2 separate regions of the Homo sapiens genome follow, and region 2 is linked to region 1. Evidence: promoter capture Hi-C in 16 types of primary human blood cells and fetal thymus (Javierre and others, 2016). All regions are on one chromosome and are shown on one strand. The core of a region is centred on a gene start or on the middle of the fragment in contact, and the rest is flanking DNA. Distances in the headings are between cores, read along the strand shown. Region 1 holds the start of SPCS3 (signal peptidase complex subunit 3). Region 2 overlaps GALNT7-DT (GALNT7 divergent transcript).

Region 1 (3,664 bases), core at 471-2,970:
GACCTGGTTTTCTACCATAACTTACCTTTCCAGGCTTATTTCTGCTTACTCTTTTATACATGCATTGTTTATCAGGACCAGCCTTCTGAGTATCTCTTAGATATACCTGTACTTGCAGTTCAACAACAAGAATTATTTCCCTAAAACATGCTATAATAATAATGTGTCTTGTTTAGGCTTTGTGTTAAATAATTTGCACACTGTGTTGTCCCACATTACCAGGGCTGTAATTCCTTCCTCCTTTGCTATGTAACTTCCCAGGGTATTTTTTTGTTTTACATTTCAGATTTGTTTTTATTTTATTAACTCTACCTGATTATATACTTTTGAGTGTAGAAAGTGATCAGTACAATCTCTGTATCACTTGCAGTATAGATGGCATTCAATAAAAATCCTTTTTTTTCTTTTTTTGTTAACAAACTGTGCCAGCCTGGAAGTTAAAAACTAAGATTTTAAACGCAACTAAGGATCTCTCTTTAGTCTCTATTTTATCGATTTTTCATTAGTTGGCTCTATTTGAGCAGGGAGTCTGCCTTATTAGTGCTGTATTCTCAAGGCTTAGAACTATTCCTGGTACACGGTAGGCACTTGGTAATAATCCTACCTGTATGGCTATACAAAAATTAATTGAATGGTCATGAATAATGCAAAGAAGCAAAAGCTTAACAAGAGACAACATAAGCCAGTATCAAGATCAGATGTTCACAGTTTTCTGGTTTGTTCCTGATCACATTCCAGGACAGATATTTTTGTTTGGTTTATGGACTGAAATTTTTAAAAAAAATTTATTTCAGCAGACCCTGAATCCATTTTTATAAAAACCCTTAGCTGTGAAAGGAACAAAGGTTTTGGCAGATAGTATAATCAGAGTCAGGATTGGCTCGGTTTGAACCCTAATGCCCTTCAGGATATTGAAAATGTGATAAAATAATTGCATTATTTATTAATGACCCAACGAAATTCTTATACATTATGCTGTAGAGCAATTCCGCAGCCATTATCTTCTTTGCTCCTAAGAACCCAGAAAGGTTATCCTTTTATTTATCAGAAATCACCATGTTAAAATGCAAATACTTAGGATCGGTAGCCTCAACCCTTATCTTCTAAAACATCTTTAGCTATCCATACAAAGCAAAGCATTAATAGGAATTGGACTGACGTTGGAGGTGGAAATACTGATGCACGTGACAGCTTTAAGGACTTGGGCGGCTAATTCCCCACTCCCCACTGCTCCTCAGATCCTCCAAAAAAAGCTCAAGTCCTAACTTTGACCAGGTTTGACAAAGAAGGGAGAGGACCAGGCGTTTTGTAAAGTGCTGCTTCCAAACGCCACCCGTCAGGACAGATTCTAAACCACCTTAACTTGCTGCCGGTTTCAAGTGAAAATAAATGGTACATAAGTAATCAAGAAGTCGCAGTCCCAGACCTCTGACCAAAGAACCGAAAAAGGACAGCGAACGACCGGTTCCCAATTCTCTGAACCCAAAGGTCGGAGAAGCAATTTAGAAGAGGAGGGGGTGGGTCTTCCACAACAAACCCCGCCCCTCCCTCACTCGTCGCTGATTGGTGGCGGCGTTAGGCCGCGACGGAGGGGCGGGCCCGCGGCTGAGTCTCTCCCTTTCCGCGCCGCCCCGTGCGCGCTGTGGGTGTGTTTCGGGAAGCGGGCGCGCGCGCGCTCGCGTCGGAGGACCGGAAAGGAGGCGGGGCTGCGGCGGCGCGCGCTCCCGGAACGCGCGCACCGCAGACGGCGCGGATCGCAGGGAGCCGGTCCGCCGCCGGAACGGGAGCCTGGGTGTGCGTGTGGAGTCCGGACTCGTGGGAGACGATCGCGATGAACACGGTGCTGTCGCGGGCGAACTCACTGTTCGCCTTCTCGCTGAGCGTGATGGCGGCGCTCACCTTCGGCTGCTTCATCACCACCGCCTTCAAAGACAGGAGCGTCCCGGTGCGGCTGCACGTCTCGCGGATCATGCTGTGAGTGAGGCCGGGCCGGCGGTGCAGGACGCCGGGACCGGGCTGGGGCGGAAGCCGAAGCCGGGCCGCCGCGCCGGGGCTGCCGTGCCGGGGCCGCGGGCAGGGCGTCCGGATCGCCCTCCTGAGCGGCAGTTCGCCCCCGAGGGCGGTCGTCAGGGGTGGACGTCGCAGGCTTTTCCGGCGTCCCCTCGGAACTTGCACCCCTCCACCGTAAATTCCCGGGCTTGCTCTTAAATTTTAATTTTGAGCGTTCCTCAGGTCGGTGCCTCCGCTTGCTTCCTGTTCCTCACTTCCCTCCACCCACGCCTGGCCAATGAGGGAGCAACACAACAGCAGAGCCGGCGCCGCCGCCCGCCTGGGCTGGCGCCTCCCGCGCGTCCGGTGCCGCTCGTGGTCCGCATGCGAGGCCCTCCAGGCGCTGCCGCCGCGCTCTGGGTCGGGCTTCCGTGGGGTTTCCTGGCGGCTCTGGAGGCCACAGGACGGGGTTGTCTTTGTGTCATTCATCACCCGAGTTTGCCCTGTTTGACATTCCCTTTACAGTTGTTGCCTTTGCACCTTCAGAAGGCAGTAAACAGTTGGAGCTGCTTTGAAGTTGGCCAGAGATGTTGGGCACTGAGAGAATTAAGCATCTTAGCCTTCTGATACAGCGAGATTTTTGTTTTGTTGGGTTTCTTTATTTCTTTTTCTTTTGCCAACCACTTGAAGAAGTCTGCGAAAACGCCAAAAAATGCAGTTCGAAATGACAGTGCCATTTCGCTATTGCCTATTTTGTCCTTGATTTTATTCTCTGGCACTTTTGTCTTTAATCGTCGTATTTTTCCATCTCTTGTTCTCATACCCTTCTACTCTATTTCCGTCTTACACAAGTTCTTTAACCTTAGTTTATTTCTTTGTCAGAATCGCCAAGAAGCCAGTTATCAAATAGCGAGCCTTCTCCCCCCACCTTTTTTTTTTTTTTTTAAATTACTGTACTGATGTTTGTTAGATATTGTTCGAATAGACCTGGGGTGGACATCAGCACTGCCATTGTCAGCCCTGTGAGGGTTAGAAGAGCTTGGTGCATATTAAACACTGAACAGATGTTAGCTGTTGTTGTCTTGAGCAAGTTTTCTTACCATTCTGGGCCTTAATTTCTTTTTGTTTAAGATGGAAGTAATACCTAATTTTTAGGTTGTGAGAATTATTTGAAATGTGAAAAATATTGTCAGTGGGTCTGAGCCGTAGTAAACAGTAAATAGCAGCTGGTTACAGTAGTATCCCCTTAATGGGGTAGGTATACGTTCCAAGACCCCCAGTGGATGGCTGAAACCACGGATAGCACCAAACCCTATATATACTTGGTTTTTTCCTATACCGTACATACATACCTACCTATGATAAAACTTACAAGTTAAGCACAATAAGAGATTAACAATAACATAATAGAACTGTAACAATATACTATAATAAAAGTTATGTGAATATGATCTCTTTCCCCTTCTCTCAAAATAACTTATTTTACTGGACTCACCTATTTTCACACCAGATTGACCGCGGATAATTGAAACCGGAAAGTGAAACCTCGGATAAGGGGGTGATTACTGTATCACCCTTTAATATGCCATCTGTTAGTATTCGTATCACCTTGTAGTCATGTGTAGCTTTCTTCTACCCATTCTGCAAAATTGCTTTACATCAAGTATTTACTATT
Region 2 (4,088 bases), core at 1,306-3,805, 3.2 Mb before region 1:
AGAGGTTTCTGAAAGAACTGATGTATAAATTGAAATCTGAAGGATTATCAGGGAGTTCATGGGAGAGGGGTTGGTGTAAGAACCACAGAGTGTTCTAAGCGAGAGAATAACACACACAAGGTCTAGAAGTGAGAGGGAAGTTAGCCTATTTCAGAAATGGAGAGAAAATCAACATGGCTATAGTTTAAGTTGCAAAAGAGGGGATAACTGACCAGCCATGGGGCTGCAGAGGTAAGCAGAGGCAAGCTCACAAAGGCTTTGTAATAAATGGAGGAATTTGGGCTTAAATATAAGAGCAATGGGAAGCTGTTGAAGAGGTTTTAAACAAGAGTGGTAAGAGACAAAATCCGTTTCAATCACCTCTTAAATAAATGGTTAGATCAGAAGAGCACTTCTGAATTATGGGAGTCCAAAAACAGTACCAAATTATGAAGAGGTAGTGTTCTACGATGTGAAATCTGAGGGCTTTTACATAAATATTTTTGCTTTCCAAACACTGTAGGAGACCCTTAACCTCATTAAATGGAAGCCCTTGACAACAGTCCTTTATTCCAGATGAGCACAACTCAGGAATTATCCATCTCAAGCTTATGATAGAAATAGTACCCCATGTCAGAAAAAAAGTACAAAGGCAGGATTTTACCTCATAGTATTCCACATGAAAGCACAAATTAGTCTCAATCACACATCGGCATCATAGGAAAATCTCAGAATTTCAGTATTGGAAAGAATGTTAAAGATCATTTGGTCCAACACCTTCATTTTACAGATGAAGGCAGTATACAGATTATTTCTTATACAAGACTGTGGATTCTGCCTTGGGCTCTCTCTCCCTCAGATCTTTCATGAAGGGGGGAAGTCAGCTTGGCATGTCATGAGTAGCCCTGTGGAGAAGCCCAGGTGACAAGGAACTGAAGCCTCCCACCGCCTGCCAGTGAGGAACTGAGGCCTGCCTGCTGGCCATGTGGGTGAACTTGACAGCAAATTCTCCAGGCCCAGTTGGTTATGATAGTGGTCCCAGCTGATAGTTTGGTAAGAACCTCATGAGAGACCCTGAGCCAGACCACCTTGTTAAGCCACTCTTAGATTCCTGACTTCAGGAACTGTGTGAAGTAAATGTTTGTTGTTTGAAAGTGCTAAACTTTGGAGTCATTTGTTAAGCAGTAAGAGGTAACTAATGAACAGTACACAAAATTAATAAATTCTTAACAAACTTACACTATGCTTCCCTTGATATCTAAATAGTAGTTATTTTCTAAACAATAAAATGTATCTTCCTTTAAAGATACTACCAATTGTGCTCTTCTTCTTTGAAAAGAGGTGATTAAATGGCTTATAGAATAGGTGATAGGATATTTAGTCATTTAGAGGTCACTGACTCTAATTTAACCTGAGTTCTTGGCAACCACACATAGATAATACTGAAATTTGTTTGCAAATAATTCCCTATGGCTACATATTCCCATTTTAATGTAGCTGTTTTTTTTAAATCTCCGTACATACAAAAATATGAACTTAAATTAAAATTACCCTTTCTTCTTAGTTCTAAGCAGCCTTAGTAGGATGCTGAGTAAGGGGGAAACAACAGCCTATCAATTGATGATGATGACCATATGTAAAATAATCACTTTTCTAATTTAATAAAACCTCCAAAGTTTTGTCCTTGGAAGAAAAACCTCCCAGTGAGGAGGAATAGCAATTGAAGTAAACCTGGCCCCTCTTCTAAGTTTTGTCTGCCTTTTATATTTTCAATCCCATTATTCATTCAGCATTCCATCAAGAAATACTCACTGAGCCCTTTCCACATACCAGACACGGATAACAATAACGAACTAGATAGACAAGGCTCCACCTTCATACACATTTTTATCTGGGTATAGGAAAAAGAAATTAAGCAATTACAATATAGTGGTAATCATTAGGGAAGAAAAGTAGAGGGTGCAGTGGAAGTACCTAGCAGGATACCTACCCTAGTACATTGGTGGGAAGAGATATAGGGGTGTGGAGTGGGACATGTGAGAGAGTCTAGAAAAAGCTTTTTTGTAACTGACATCTAAGCGTAATGTTAAGATGTCAGAAGGTATTTCAGGCAAAAAGAACTCCCCGTACAAAGGCCTGAAGGTAAGTGAGTTACATTTAGAAACTTAGAAGTTCAGCTTGGCTGCAGCATAGCATTGGGGTAGTGTAGCCCCAAAATGGATACAATTCCCTCTGCTGGGCTTCCCTGTAACAGAGTTGACATGGTGGAGAAATTAAAAAATAACAAAGCTTTAGGCTCTGACCTCTTGCACATTATGCTGCCTGAAAACATTTATGTTCCAGATGCAGAAGGCTAATCAGTCTGGCAAGAATTCTGAGGTTGGAAAAACCTGCTTTGAATCCCAGCTTGAGACCAGTAATACCCACAACAGGTTGTGTAGAGGTTAGGTGAAATAATAAATGTGAAGCATCTTACACACACTAGGTGCTCAAATAATTCTCTCCCTTCAGTTACCTTGCTTCTGAGCCCCCAGCTGGACTCTGAGCTGAGGACACCATGTCACCATCCACCACACATGACCCCATGACTTGGCAGAGGACGATGCTTTTCTTGGCCATCTCTATGTCCATCTCATTCAGTTCTAGTCTCTACCCTCTTCTTTAGAGGAACTGCAGCATTCATAAAACAAGAATTATAGCCACACGCACCTGAGACTTGTTCCATTACACTAATTGTACTTTATATTTGTATATGTACTTGATCTCAATTATTCCTTTTGAGAACATCATAAGGTTGAGTATTGTAATCACTATTTGGCAGATAAAAGCCCTAGGTTCAGAGAGGTACGTGATTTATCTTGACTGAAGCTTTGAATGTAGCTCCTCATTTTCTAAACGAGTTCTGTCAACCCTACAAAGGCTGCCTCCCAGCAAATACTGCAATGGGCATATGTTTTAAGGTATATTTGCACTTTTTTTAAACTTTTAAGTTCAGGGGTACATGTGCAGGTTTGGTACATAGGTAAACTTGTGTTATGGGGGTTTGTACAGATTATTTCATCACCCAGGTATTAAGCCTAGTACCCACATTAGTTATTTTTCCTGATCCTCTCCCTCCTCCCACCCTCCACCCTCCAATAGGCCCCAGTGTGTGTTGTTCCCCTCTATGTGTCCATGTGTTCTCATCATTTAGCTCCCACTTATAAGTGAGAACATGCAATATTTCGTTTTCTGTTCCTGTGTTAGTTTACTTGCAGTTTCTTTTAAAAGTTATTAAGACTCAGAGAAACATAAACTTTTACAACTATATACCTATTCATCAATATACAACTGTATAACTATATACTCTTTCACACATATTTTAAGTTCTCTGTGTAAAACTAAAGTTGGGGGGTGGTAGTGGTGGCAGGATGTTCTCAGAATACTAGGGCCTTCAAAGGACCATCCTCAATACTTTGATGATAGGTATCACTTTCCATTTGCATACTTGCCCAGCTATGCTCATAACAGTAAAAATAAAGCTTCCTACCTTCTTAAGAATAAAAAACTGTCTCCCCTGTGAAAATAACACAAGTGAAAGACTTAATTATTCAGGTGGACTTCAGCTGCTGATTTCAAATGGAATTATTCTCTTATGATCACAGGATGCCTTGTAAGTTACCTGTTTCAAGCCCAGTCTCTGCCTAGGGAACTGTCTCCTATGAAAAGGAGTCCGGGTGGACCATGGTGGCTCATGCCTGTAATACCAGCATCTTGGGAGGCCAAAAAGGGAGGATCGCTGGAGGCCAGGAGTTTGAGACCAGCCTTGACAACAGGACCAGATAATAGACCCCGTCTCTACAAAAAATAAAAAAAAAATTAGCTGGGCATGATGACTCACACATGTGGTCCTAGCTACTCGGGAGGTTGAGGTGGGAAGATCACTTGAGCCCAGGAGTTCCAGGCTGCAGTGAGCTATGGATGTGCCACTGCACTCCAGCCTGGGTGACAGAGCAAGACCTCAACTCAAAAAAAAAATAAATAAAAAAGAAAAGGAGTCCACCTCACTTCTGAACAGTTCAAGTTGAGTCCATAAATGAGCCTATTTCTGTCTTCCAAAGATATCCATA

The links. The method cuts DNA at HindIII sites, captures the fragments that hold promoters and counts their contacts. A CHiCAGO score of 5 or more calls a contact.
Region 2: a fragment that was not itself captured here is called in contact with the fragment with the promoter of SPCS3 in region 1 in 1 of 17 cell types (activated CD4 T cells); the score reaches 5.6 in activated CD4 T cells.

The regions. Positions count from the first base shown.
Region 1 is chr4:176,318,246-176,321,909 of GRCh38, forward strand. SPCS3 (signal peptidase complex subunit 3) reads left to right here and starts at 1,721. Exons shown (of 5, transcript NM_021928.4): 1 at 1,721-1,974. The coding sequence starts at 1,832. SPCS3-AS1 (SPCS3 antisense RNA 1) reads right to left here and starts at 2,265. Exons shown (of 4, transcript NR_186171.1): 1 at 1,900-2,265. RefSeq lists an enhancer at 1,532-2,032 and silencers at 2,015-2,134, 2,255-2,324, 2,355-2,434. The HindIII fragment of the contact is 6,231 bases long and covers 660-3,664 here.
Region 2 is chr4:173,162,484-173,166,571 of GRCh38, forward strand. GALNT7-DT (GALNT7 divergent transcript) reads right to left here. Exons shown (of 7, transcript NR_134242.1): 4 at 3,641-3,816; 5 at 2,495-2,649; 6 at 1,810-1,870. Among named protein-coding and RNA genes, the nearest start is that of GALNT7, 4.3 kb to the right of the region's middle. RefSeq lists an enhancer at 3,439-3,518. The HindIII fragment of the contact is 579 bases long and covers 2,267-2,845 here.